Linked DNA regions of Homo sapiens: all the other regions are linked to region 1. Evidence: promoter capture Hi-C in 16 types of primary human blood cells and fetal thymus (Javierre and others, 2016). All regions are on one chromosome and are shown on one strand. Each heading gives the region's core, a stretch centred on a gene start or on the middle of the fragment in contact. The rest is flanking DNA. Distances are from core to core; before and after follow the strand shown.

What was found. The method cuts DNA at HindIII sites, captures the fragments that hold promoters and counts their contacts. A CHiCAGO score of 5 or more calls a contact.
Region 2: a contact is called between a fragment that was not itself captured here and the fragment with the promoter of VTA1 in region 1, in 10 of 17 cell types (total B cells, activated CD4 T cells, non-activated CD4 T cells and 7 more). The highest score is 13.8, in total B cells.
Region 3: a contact is called between a fragment that was not itself captured here and the fragment with the promoter of VTA1 in region 1, in 1 of 17 cell types (activated CD4 T cells). The highest score is 5.5, in activated CD4 T cells.
Region 4: a contact is called between a fragment that was not itself captured here and the fragment with the promoter of VTA1 in region 1, in 9 of 17 cell types (fetal thymus, activated CD4 T cells, non-activated CD4 T cells and 6 more). The highest score is 15.2, in fetal thymus.

What each region holds. Positions count from the first base shown.
Region 1 is chr6:142,145,745-142,148,763 of GRCh38, reverse strand. VTA1 (vesicle trafficking 1) reads right to left here and starts at 1,501. Exons shown (of 8, transcript NM_016485.5): 1 at 1,365-1,501. The coding sequence starts at 1,476. It overlaps NMBR (neuromedin B receptor), which reads left to right and starts at 1,642. Exons shown (of 4, transcript NM_002511.4): 1 at 1,642-1,720. RefSeq lists enhancers at 800-1,320, 1,575-1,714, 1,478-1,772. The HindIII fragment of the contact is 1,973 bases long and covers 100-2,072 here.
Region 2 is chr6:143,440,584-143,443,923 of GRCh38, reverse strand. The region is part of intron 1 of ADAT2 (adenosine deaminase tRNA specific 2); the gene reads left to right. Among named protein-coding and RNA genes, the nearest start is that of ADAT2, 8.4 kb to the left of the region's middle. The HindIII fragment of the contact is 1,537 bases long and covers 889-2,425 here.
Region 3 is chr6:143,462,760-143,466,073 of GRCh38, reverse strand. PEX3 (peroxisomal biogenesis factor 3) reads right to left here. Exons shown (of 12, transcript NM_003630.3): 3 at 3,077-3,158. Among named protein-coding and RNA genes, the nearest start is that of PEX3, 14 kb to the right of the region's middle. The HindIII fragment of the contact is 4,518 bases long and covers 1-3,314 here.
Region 4 is chr6:143,422,067-143,425,395 of GRCh38, reverse strand. ADAT2 (adenosine deaminase tRNA specific 2) reads left to right here. Exons shown (of 6, transcript NM_182503.3): 6 at 1-2,564. Among named protein-coding and RNA genes, the nearest start is that of ADAT2, 27 kb to the left of the region's middle. The HindIII fragment of the contact is 1,676 bases long and covers 1,066-2,741 here.

The DNA.
Region 1 (3,019 bases), core at 252-2,751:
TCCTGACCACTATGAAACTGAAATCCCATCTGCACTCCCTGCCACCACTACTCCTGATACTCTTATTCCTTTTCCTTGCTCTATTTGTCTTCATAAGCTTTTAATACTCTATGTATGATAGACTCTATATTGTTGAAACTCTCTACCTCCATTGTATGTAAGCTCCAAAAATGCAGCAAATGTAGTCACAGCGCCTACTAATGCTTGATACAAAGGTAGCTCAATGAACACATACTGAATGAATATGGACCCTGCTTGAGGAAACTGAAGAACAAGTATAATAAAAATGATGCTGTAAAATTTGAACAAAATGAAGTAATGCACAGAGAATAATCAATTTGCTGCCCACAGAAGTGGTGACATTTGGGTTAGATCTTGAATCATGAGTTTGCCAAGTGCAAGAAAAAGGTGCACATTCCAAGAGAGTGGAAGATGGTAGGTCTGAAAAGGCCTTGCACATTTGAGAAACAGGGTACATTTGGAGTATGGCAGAGATAACAGTGACCAGATTTTAGCTAACCTTACAATATACACAACAATGGACGCATTATATCCAACTTCTCAACTCTAAATATCCTTTTCAGAATTATAATTGTCCAGTTACTTGTTTTATTTGCAGTAAAGTTAAGAGTACAGAATACAAAATAAAGTTAACACAGAATTACTGGCACTCCCTTTACTCACTACAAGTTTGAGCAGAGTTAACCTATATTTTTTTTAATCAAACTGTAAATTCAACGTATAACACTCAAAGTGAAAATACTGCTTTCAAAGGTCTCAACAGCGGGTATTATTCAAAGAAGTCAAAACTAAAAATTCTGCATGGTAGGAGAGAGCAGCTGGGTGGGGAAAGGTCAAATTCAACTGCTTATTTAGTAGCAGATACTCCCCATTTAACCAAATGAGTTTCTGATTGGGCTTGCATGCTGTCATAAATAATATTCACTTATTACTATGTTTTCAACTAGTCTATCGTCCTTTTATCCACATCACTCCTTCTTTCGGACACTCACCTTCGTTTTAAACCTAACTCAATTTATTTTCAGGATTCCTATTTGAGACAAGAAGCTCTTGTGTGTACACACACAGAGAAAACCTTGGAAGATTATATTCCACAGTTCAAGAGCCTGTGTAGTCAGTACTGGAGCATTTAAGCACAAGATAGGAGAAGCAGTGGACACCATGGTGTTTTGGGATTCCTACTGCCAGGGGGTGGGAACCCAGGGAGTTCCCTGGGTAGGCTCGAGGTCAAAGCTCAGGTTTAAAGCGAGGGGGGCGGGGCATGCCCCAAGAACCTCAGGGAGGTGTGTGGGCCCTAAAATGCAACTGGGAAAGAAAGGGCGCGGCCACTCGGAAAGACTCACAGTAATAAGCCACCACAGGGTCTCGCTTGTCATGCTCCTGAGCCGTCCTCAGATGATGCTGTATGCTCTTGAACTGTGCGGGGAGCGGGGGCAGCGGTGCAAGCGCGGCCATCTCTACTCCGAACTCACCACTTCCTACTCGCGCTCCACCGGCACTTCCGCTTCCGTCTGGGCGGTAGCGCGCACGAGCGTTCAGAGCAAATGCTGCCCACTCTTCCGTTGCTCAGCGACGTCAAGTCAACTACGGATCCCCAGCTGGGACAACCTCAGGGTGCTTGGCTCTCGGCGGTTAGAACCCACAGAAGACCCGAGCATTTTGGCGCTTATGCCGCGCATGGCGCTAGCGCTCTCTGCTGGTAGGAGGAAGGGTTTTTGTTTTGTTTTGCTTTTTTGTTTGGTTTGTTGTTTGTGGCAAAAGGAAGGATAGAAAAGGAAAAACAAGAAAATAATGTATGTTGACTGGGAGAAAGTATAAAGGCGAGAATTGCCTTTGGCGTCATTCAGGAATTACCACTTCCAGTTAATATGCCACATTAATATTCCATATAGCAGTGTCCTTTAGAAGCCTTTTTGATTTTAGAAACTTTAATTTCAATACTTGCATGAGAGAGAAATAATGTGTTTAAATTGTAAATTAAATTTTTCTATGTTGACATACTGGATAAAATAATCAGATTTCGCGCCAAATTAAGCTAAACATATGAAGCTTAAAGAAGATTGAACTTTTGTTCTCAGCTGGCTAGTACGTATTTTAGTGAATGAATAATCTGTAGATCACCTTTTTTTTTTCTGGAGAGTGATTAACAATTTGTAAAGTATTTTCATATTTATTATCTTGTCTTAATGTAAGATAGGGTGTTTGGGACGTTTTCAACGCTGGTAACTCTTAACCATTGTACAGTAGGCATCACTTTTCCTTCTACCCTCAATGACTTCAATTCTCTTCCTCTCCTCTCCATCCCTTACTTATATCTTTCAGGACTGTACACTTTATTTACTTCCTCCAATAACCTTCTTTATTTTATCTCAGTCCTCAGTTTTGACAATTCATCTTAAAACTAGTTTTCACTGAAATCACACTATCCCCAAGAGCCAAAATCTCCAGCTCGGAAATTCCCCTCTGCCTACTATTTTCTGATCACTCTCTCACCCCCAGAAGAAACCGCTCCATGTCCTCATATTATCCCACTCCACATACGTTGCCTAGACCTATTTGCAAAGTCCATCATCTTATTCTGGGTCGGGCTTTTTTACTCAGCCTGAAACTCAGTTCTGTCTTCTTCCCCAATCTCAGCGGCATATTTCCTACCACTGGAGAATGTATGGTTTCTTTCTCTTTCTCTTACTCCCACTATTTGGACTTTCCAGTCAAAAGTTGCTAGATTGGTAGAGAAATCAATGAAGAAAAGCAGAGTTGGATAACCATAACTGTTTTCTTTCTATACTCACAACTTTTCATTTATTTGTTTCCTATTACTTCTTGATTCTCAACCGCAGCTGCCCTTAAAGATCAACTTTAAAGCCCACTCCAGGCATTCTCACTTAATTGTTCTAGGTGGGATCCTAAATGTCAGTATCTTTAAAAGGTCCTCATGTAATTTTAATGTTACGTCTAGGGTTAAGGACCAGTGCTGTAGTCCACAGATGGTGTTTCA
Region 2 (3,340 bases), core at 408-2,907, 1.3 Mb before region 1:
AGGAGATATTTTTACAGAAAATCCTGATCACATGGCCTCCATTTGTTTATTCTCTTGCCGTTTTTGTTTTTTTTTTTAACTTTTTTTTTTTTTAAGACAGAGTTTCACTTTGTCGCCCAGGCTGGAATGCAATGGCACAATCTGGGCTCACTGCAACCTCCGCCTCCTGGGTTCAAGCGATTCTCATGCCTCAGCCTCCCAAGTAGCTAGGATTACAGGCACCCATCACCATGCCCAGCTAATTTTTGTATTTTTAGTAGAGATGGGGTTTCACAATATTGGCCAGGCTGGTCTCAAACTCCTGACCTAAGATGATCCACCTGCCTTGGCCTCCTAAAGTGCTGGGATTACAGGCATGGGCCACTGTGCTCAGCCTATTTTTTACTTTTTTTAGAGATGGGGTCTTGCTGTGTTACCCAGGCTGGAGTGTAGTGGCATGATCATAGCTCACTACAGCCTTGAACTCCTCTTGCCATTTTTTTTATCCTTAAAATTTCCATGTCTCACTCTCTTGCCAACTGTTCTCTCTCATTTGGTCCCTTGATTCACTCTAAACTCAAACCCTGATAAAGCAGCTGATCGGTGAAGTGTCTGTTGTTACTAAAGTAGAAGTTAGAGGCAGAACAGTGGCAGAGAGCCCTGGAATCTGGCCCTTGGTAGGTGCTCCACAAATGTTTGTTGAACAAATGAATAAGTGGAGCCAGGTTGTCTATGCCCTAGTCCCAGCTCTCTCACATGCGCTAGTGAGAGATATATACATGTATAAAAAAAAATCTCCCTGTGCCTCAGTTTCCTCATCTGTAAAATGGGGAAGATCATTATAGGCTTGTAAATGAAATGAATTAATACTTATAAAATGCTTAAATTAGTCCTGGATCAAAGTAAGCTTTCAATAAATTGTAAGCTCTTATGTTCAAGCTCTCAGAACCAGAATACTCGAGATGCAGACAAAACATTACCTCTCTTAAGAGGTTTGTTGGGGAAAGTATAGCTGGAGTTAAAAATTTAACCTCTTAGATAAGTCACTGTTCAAGCTACTGGTTTTCATCTCCACCATTCCACCTAAATTGCCACCACCTTGCTGAATTAGACACACTTGACCACCCTTCCTTCTTGGCCTAGTGTTTTTCTGGGATTGTCCGTAACACCAAATATTTCTCTAAACTCACTAAACATCTCTTTTTAATTCCCATTGCAAAATCCTTTTTGTTTACCTGTACTTATTTTTTAACTTTCATTTTGAAATAATTATAAGTTCACAAGAAATTACAATAATAATATACTGGGAGGACCCAAGTGTCTAGTGTCCTTCAGTGGTAACATCTTGCATAGCTATAGTTCAGTATCAAAACCAGGAAAAATGCATTGGGAAAACTGCAGAGCTTATTAAGATGTCATCAGTTTTATTTGTACGTGTGTGTGTGTGTGTGTGTGTGTGTGTGTGTGTATGCGTGCCTATGCAATTTTGTCATGTTTAGCTTTGTATAACCACCACTGGAACTGTTTCACTACCACATGGCTCCCTTGTGCTACCTCTTTATAGCTGCAGCTTCTAATCTGTTCTCTGTCTATAATTTTATAATTCAAAAATGCTATGTACATGAATCTGTAACCATTTGGCTTGGCTTTCTCCATTCAGCATGATTCCCATGAGATCCATCCAAGTTGTTGAGATTATCGATAGTTCATTCCTTGTTATTGCTGCATTGTGTCCCATGGTACAGGTGTACCATAGTTTGTTTAGCAGTTCACCCACTGAAGGGCATTTGAGTTGTTTCCAGTTTTTGGCTATTACAAATAAAGCTGTTATGAATATTTGTGCACACAGACATACATTGTGTGAGCATAGGTTTTCATTTCTCTGGGATAAATGCCCAAGAGTGGAATTGTTGGGTCATAAGTTAAATGCATGTTTAGCTTTTTAAGAAACTGCCAAACTATTTTCCAGTGTGGCTGTACCATTTTATATTCCGACCAGCAGTATATGAGTAATATCACTTCTCCACAGCCTTGCCAGCATTTGATGTTGTTTTTACGTTTCACTTTAGTCATGCTGATGGGTGTGTAGTGATACCTCATTGTGGTTTTAGTTGACATTTCTCTACCGGCTAATGATGTGAAAACATCTTTTCGTGTACTTATTTGCTATGTGTGTTATCTTCTTTGGTGAAATGTCTGTCTTTTGCCTTCTCATATAGTTTGGATATTTGTCGCCTCCAAATTTCATGTTGAAATTGAATCCCTGGTATTAGTAGCAGGGCCTGGTGGGAAGTTTGGATCATGGGGAGGATACCTCATAAATCATTTTTATAGTGGCAAGTTCTCACTATATTATTATCATGAGAATATACCATCCCCTCCTTTCTTTCTTCTTCTCTTACCATGTGATGCCTGCTCCCATTGCCTTCTGCCATGAGTGGAAGCTTCCTGAGGCCCTCACTGGAAGCAGATGCTGATACCATACTTCTTGTACAGTCTGGAGAACTGTGAGCCAAATCAACTTCTTCTCTTTATAAACTACCCAGCCTCAGGTATTCCTTTATCGCAGCACAAATAGATGAAAACAGTCTTTTTCTAATGGGATTATTATTTTATTGTGGAGTTTTAAGAGTCCTTTATATAGTCTAGATACTAGAGTGTTGCCAGAGATGTGGTTTGTAAGTTTTTTCCTATTTTAGCATGTTTTTCTTCCTCTTTGCTGCATGTATTAGTTTCCTATGGCTGCTGTAACAAATTATCACAAACATGGTGGCTAAAAACAACACAAGTTTATTCTCTTATAGTTCTGGAGGCCAGAAGTCTGAAATTTTAGTGAGCCCCAATCAAAGTTTTGGCAGGGCCGAATAACTTCTGGAAGCCTGCCTTTTCCAGGTACTGAAGTGACATTTATGACCCATCCCTCCATCTTCAAAGCCAGCAGTGCAGCATTTTCAAATCTCTCTCTCTCTCCTTCCGTTATCACTTCGCCTCTTGCCTTCTGTGGGTGCCTTCAGGACCCACCTGAATTTGGGATAATCTCTCCATCTCAAGATCCTCAACAAATATTTTTTGCATGAATAAATGATTTGTCTCTTCTGTGTACCTTGATCTCTGTGTAATTCTACACTTACCTTAAATAAAATTCTTAGTATAATAATTGCCATAGCTACACTGGTAGTTAGCATTTCCATTCTCCTTAACTGTCCGTCTTCTTCCTGGCTTTCTTCTCTATAGTAGCCTATGGTGCATTTGTCTATATTAACCAAACCTCGGGACTCTTCAAGCCTTTTGAACTTGCATAAACTGGACATGCTTTAACCACTGTCACAGAACTGGGACACAACCGGCCTGTGGATAGTTC
Region 3 (3,314 bases), core at 815-3,314, 1.3 Mb before region 1:
TTTTCAAACCACTAGTGGAAGGATCCATTTTTTTTCCTTTTCCTTTCCAATCTGTCACAGAGCAGCACTTTTGTTAAATACAATAAAAATAAATTACTAGAAAACATGAAATAAAAAAAACCACAGATATAGAAAACACAAGTCCATATTCTTTATTATTACTTTCAGACATAAATTTGCATTCCAACAAGAAATTGAGTTACTATTACAATTTTAAAGATACTACTAGCTTCTTGTCTTTCTTTGCCAATGAGCAGACTCTATAGTTTCAGTTACCTCTTTCCTAGATGGCACAGGTTCAGAAAATGTGTTGAGTAACTCATGCAAGACACTGCTGCAACCTTAATCTAATCTAGTGTTCAAGACTCACGGCAGAATGTCATATGTATTCGGATTAAACTGGGAATCAACCACAATTCAAAGGTGAGGTATTTAATGTATCCTAAGTGACTCATATCTCTTTTTGAATGCTCCCTCAGAAAAATTTCTAAGTACTTCTTATAAAAATTCTAAAAGAAAAAAGATAAGAAAACAGTGGTTCCGAAAATTTCAATATAGAAAGTGCTTAGTAGTGAGCCATGATTGTGCCACTGTACTCCAGCTTGGGCGACAGAGTAAGACTCTATCTAAAAAAAAACCAAAACCAAACGAACAAAAAACTGTATTTTATTTGGGATGATTTTGGTGGGAGAAGACAGTAATAGTTACCCAGGACATTTCTTCATGTTTACACTTAACATTATTAGACCTTAAAAGTAGATTTTTAAATACTGATGCTATTTTTTTTTAAAAAACTCCAAAATCTACATAAAAGATTCCAAATCTATGTAGAACAGAGAAAAGTACCTTCAACACAAATATTCCTTTCAAATGATTTGTTTGATGGAAATCAACTGCAAGTTAAATACAACCAGACTCTTTAATGTCACTAAAATACCTTCATGGAGAAATAAAAAGTAAAGAGAATTAAACGAATCTTTTCGAAGTGTTCTACTTCTCTTATGATGGAGGATGTTTAAGATTTTTTTGTTTTTGCCATTGAAACTTCATTGCCATTATCAGTCTTCAAGAAGAGTGCCAAATATCAAAAACAGTGATAACTGTTTATTTGCTGTTATGAAGTTGGCAAAATAAGACTATCAAATCATCTACTTATTTCTCATTAGTTATTATCTTAGTTATTATCACAAATAGTTTAAAGAAAAAAAAACTTGCTCAACAGGCTTATATGAGACCAGAGTCTCATATAAAATTAATATAAAAGCAGTCATAAGATTGGAGGCCTTATTTAATGATACTTTGTAAGGGATCAAGCCCTTATTTATGCAAATATTTTTCAAATGGATATTACCCTTCTCCCCCCACCAAATTACAAATAGTAATTTCAAATCAAAAGAAAGCCAAGAAGAAGTAACATTGAGATATTTAAAGAGGAAACTGAATGAGGAGAACTGTGGCCCACCTTAAATTCTCCAGAATTTAAGAAATTCTCCTCCCTGTGTACCGATTAAGAAAAAAAGAATCACATCTTTTCTTTAAAGCTGTCCAGGATAATCTATCAAAATTAATCCTTTGGTTTTTTTGATACTCCTAAATTTTCCTTTTACTTTTTGTCATTGCACTAAATATGTCCGGAATTACGATAATTTATTTAGTCTACTTCCTCCTTTGGATGAAAAGGTCTTAAAGAGACTTGATCTTAACTATTAAATCCCCTAAAGCACATGGAACATAGGGCCTTGCAGGAAACAGATTCACCAAGAAGGAAGAATGCCACCACGATTATTTTATCTGTATTATGTTGCTTGTATAAAAATGCTATTCACTTATTTAACTTGTCTTGCCTTCTCATCATGACAAAAAGGAAATTAAAATCTACTTCTTTTCAATTCCTACCTATGTACACACAAATGGTAATTATTTATTTGATCAAAAGCAATCTGCTTATATGTTTCTTCTTCATAAAACTGTATGAACTAATTTATAAGCTAAACCTTATATCTGTAAGAAGGAAGGAAGGTCTGTCTACCTCTAAGAATGAAGAAATTTAAAATGGAAAACCCCCATCACTAGCATTCTGTTTTAATCAGATAAAAGAAATCTCAAGTACACAAATCCACTGTTATTTTGGGAAGTATTCTCTGAATATAGTAAGTGTTTTTAAAAAAATTCCCCACTTGTTATGTAGCCTGTCTGAGCACTCAATTCCTACTGCAAAATGAATAATAGTAACCGCCTCACAGGGATATTGTGTAAATTAAGTGGGAGCATATATGGAAGGTACCTAGCACCAGGGCTAGCACAGTGAGACAGTTTAGAAATAGAACTACTTTTCCCCTGGCTATTTGAAGGGTGATTAAAGGCAAGTGATTATTTTAGGAAGGCCACAATGATTAACATTTATTTAGTGAAACCATTTCCCTGCCCACCCTCCCATCATTGTCATCAAAATAAGAAGCCATTTCCTGCTGGAAGTCTTCTCAAACTAATACAGTATCATACCAAATTACAATACCCCAACACATGCTACATGCAATATACAAGGTTACATATGTGAAAGTGCTTTTGGAAACAGCAAACTGCCATGGCAATGTAAATTATTAGTATTGCATGCTCATGTTATGTTTGTATTTCATTTTGTTAGTAATTTAAGATATAAGTCCTGTATATCTTATTTATTTAAAACGTATGTTCACATGCTGTATTACACCGTAAGCTCTTTCAGAAAGAAGCACAATATTTAACGTAACTTTGTTAGCTTCACAGCATCTGGTTCAGGAACACATTTCACAAGCACTGCATAATTAAATTTGTGAACAATTTCAAAGTGCTATAAGGTCTATTTATATGAAAAACAATACATACAAATATCATTGCCTTGAATGCTTTATGCAAAAAAGTAGAGCATAGACAAAATTAAATGTAGGTTAAATGATATAGTTAGTATTTTTCTTACTGAGCCTATATAAACTTTCATTAGATAGAAAAATAACAAAGATTTTTGAAAAGTCTATCAGTTCATTCTATAAACTTTAAGTGTAGTGCTTAAACAGAAAATGCTGTAACTTGCATTTACCTGTTTTTTAGCAGAGCTGTGAGGCTCTCGGAATTCAGTTGCTGCATTAAGGCCTCTCTCAGTGTTGGAAGCATGGACAGCACTGTAATACAAACAAAAAAAATAAAAAAGGTCACAAGTGATATGACTGCCCTCACTAAGAAATGCGCATTGTTTTAGGCTATATGATAGGGCTAGCAACTAGCAAGAGTCAGAAGGGAAAGTCAGGGCTAGACGATTCAAATTATTATTATTATTA
Region 4 (3,329 bases), core at 654-3,153, 1.3 Mb before region 1:
CAGACTCATGTCACCACACCTAATTTTTTTTTTTTTTTTTTTTTGTAGAGACAAGGTCTCACTATGTTGCCCAGGCTGGTCTTGAACTCCTAGGCTGAAGCAATCCTCCTTCCTTGGCCTCCCAAAGCACTGGGATTATAGACGTGAGCCACTGCACCGGTCTGCCTTTAGCTTCTTTTAGTCTAGAACATTTTCACTGGCTTTCTTTGTCTTTTATGACATTGACATTTTTAAATAATACAGTCATTTTGCCTCCTTTCTGTTTTCTTCTTCTTTTTTTAAATAATAGAATGGTCCTTGTTTTAAATTTATTTGATATTTTCTTGTGATTAGATTCAGGTGCTGGTTGATGTTAAGTTCCTCACAGGATATCACATCTGGAGGCACACAAAGGCCGTCACACCAAGGTGATGTCAATTTTGGTCATCTGGTCAAGGTGTTGTCCTATTCCTTCACTATATAGTTACCTTTTTTCTCTGTTGCAATGAATAAGCAGTCTGTGGGAAGAGGAGCTGTTACATTTTAAACAGAAAATGTATTTGACACTGATGGAAAGGAGAGGAGGAAAATTAATGACATAAATTTCAAAGCAACTATTAAATTATTTGATTGCATTCTTCCTCTTTTACTGTCTGCCAAAATTGATAAAAAAAATTTTTCTAATAAGAATGTTTTAAATAGTGATATCTTAATAAGCATCAAAATTAAGCCTGAGAAATAAATTCTTTCCTTCCTAATTTCCTCCTCAGCAAAAGTAATAATTATATAAATTTCATTATGCCTGATAAGATAGGGTTTTGGAAAATAGACCTAAGATGTTTCTGATACTGCAGATGACCTATGGTGATCCAATGGGATAAACACTCTAGGTAGGTTGTCATTTGGTCATAAAATATGAGTTATCTTGGGTTTCCATAGAGACATCTAGACTTAAAATGTTGTAAGCACTGCTACTTTCAAAATGTCAGTAAAAATAGCAAAAGCCAAAGCTCTTGAAAAAATTACTTAAATCTTTTTTAAAAGTAGTATAGCGCCTTGTTAAAAATCTGTGGTGATGCCAAAGCTTGTCTTTCCCAGTGGTCCTACGTGAACTGGCCTTATAGCCCCAGGGAAACCAGACACCAGGAATTGGTTTCTCTGCCTTTTGGCAAAGGAATAAGACTACATTGACTTCATCTATGAAGACAACTGCCAACTATTTCCTTTGTAAATTGCTAATTTTGTGTAGTGAGGAAAGGAGCGATGGGCGACGTGATTTTTATGGATTAGACTGGTGAGTTCTGCTGAAAGTTTGACATCTTTAGGATCTTACATTTTCTTCAAGTTGAGCTAATGAAAACAGGCTCGTGACTATTTATCACCTGATTTCTAAGTGGATATTGGGTTGAACACCACATATCCATGACTATTAAGGAGGCTTCATGGTGTAGTTTGACAAAGGCTCTCTCCTTGACCAAACTTCAGTCAGGCCCTAAGTCCTCTTTTTAACCAGGCCTCCACCTTGGCCCCCATTCTTGATGGGCCTATACAGCCCAGCTTTAGCAAGAATCCTGCTAAGCTAGTTTAGAGAGAATCCCACATCCCCAATATCTATGAAATTTCTCATCCCCTACTTTTGATGTGTAAGTCCTTGGCCTCCCTTCAACGAGAAGCCTGTTAAGTTCATTTTGCAAGAACTCTACTCTTGATATCTCCTCTTAGTAATTTCCTAATCACTGACCCCCTCACTCTGCCCATTAGTTATAAACCCCCACATGTTCTGGTTGTATTCAGAGCTGAGCCTGATCTCTTCCTCTTGTTGGGATAGTTTTAAAACCTGCGATAGTTTTAAAACCTATCACTGTAGTCCTGAATTAAGTCTTCCTTACCTTAACAAGTGTCAAAATAAATTTTTCTTTAACATGTTGAAGCATGAACTTGAGAATCTAGAGCAGGAGTCCACAAAGTATGGCCCATGGGCCATATCCAGCCCGCTGCCGGTTTCGGTACCACTCATGACTTAAAAATGGGTCTTACAATTCTGAGTGATTGAAAAAAAATCAAAAGAAGGATAATATTTAGTGACCCATGAACCTTATATGGCAATCAAATTTCAGTGTCCATAAATAAAGTTACATTGGATGACAGCCATGCCCATTTGTTTCTGTGTTGTCTGTGGCTGCTCGTGTGCTACAATGGCAGAGTTGAGCAGTGGTGACAAACCATGCGACTCACAAAGGCCTAAAATATTTAGCGTCTGGCCCTTCGAGAAAATGTTAGCTGCCCCTGGTCTAGAGTAGGTAAAAGGCTGAGATTGGAAGCTGCTTGTTCAAATTCTGTGATTGGAACCGAATGATGTGGCTCATTGTACAGCTCATGGTGAATTGCTTCAGTACCATGGTTTTGTTTTTTCCTTTTGAAAAGTTGGTCTATAAATGTAAAGGAAAAATCTAAGATACCAAAATATGTTTTCTGGCTTAGAATGTTTTATTTCCTTGTATACATTTTAAGAGAGTGGCAAGGAGAAAAGATAATGTATCATTTTATTTGGGTTTAGAATAAATAATACATTTTATTTATGATCATCATGTTTAAAATATTATTTTCTGTTACTGTCTCTGTTTTACATCAAGTAAGCTGAGGCACAGGGAGATTATGTAACTTGCCCAAGGTCACAGAGTGCTAAGTGATCACATCACTCAGAAGGAGCTAGTTAAACCAATGTAACAGCCTTCAAGTTTTAGTGGCTTAGAACCAAAGCTTATTTTTCTCATGCCTTGCTTCTTGTCCATCTCAGGTCAGGCCAGGAGCCTAGGCTAAAGGAAACTTCACCACCGGGGACATCAGCTGCTGTGGCCAGAGAAGAGAACATGGTGAATAATGCTTCATACCTTAGGGCAGGGCTTCTCAAACTTAAACGTGCATAGGCATCTCCTGGGGAGCTTATTAAATTCACATTCTGATTCAGGAGGTCCTGGAGGGCCTGAGATGCCATGTTTCTATCAACCTTCTAGGTGATGCCCATAGTGCTGGACCATGGGCCACACTTTGAGTAAGGAGGGCTTCCTGGCTTTTGCCCAGAAGTGACACATCACTTTTGCTCTCAAAAGAATTAAAGCAAGTCACATGGCCATGCCCAACTTCAAGGCAGCAGATAATATAATCCATTAACTACATCAGGGAGAAGAGAATTGGAATTTTTGTGAACAGCTCCAATGAAGAGCAAACAATGTGAAGCTAGGATCTGAATTCAGGCAGGCTGGCCCCAGAGTCTGTGCTCTTAATTATAACTATATACAGTCATGGGTGTTGGTCCATTCTCTATAAAGAGAATGCCTGCCAGGCAGACA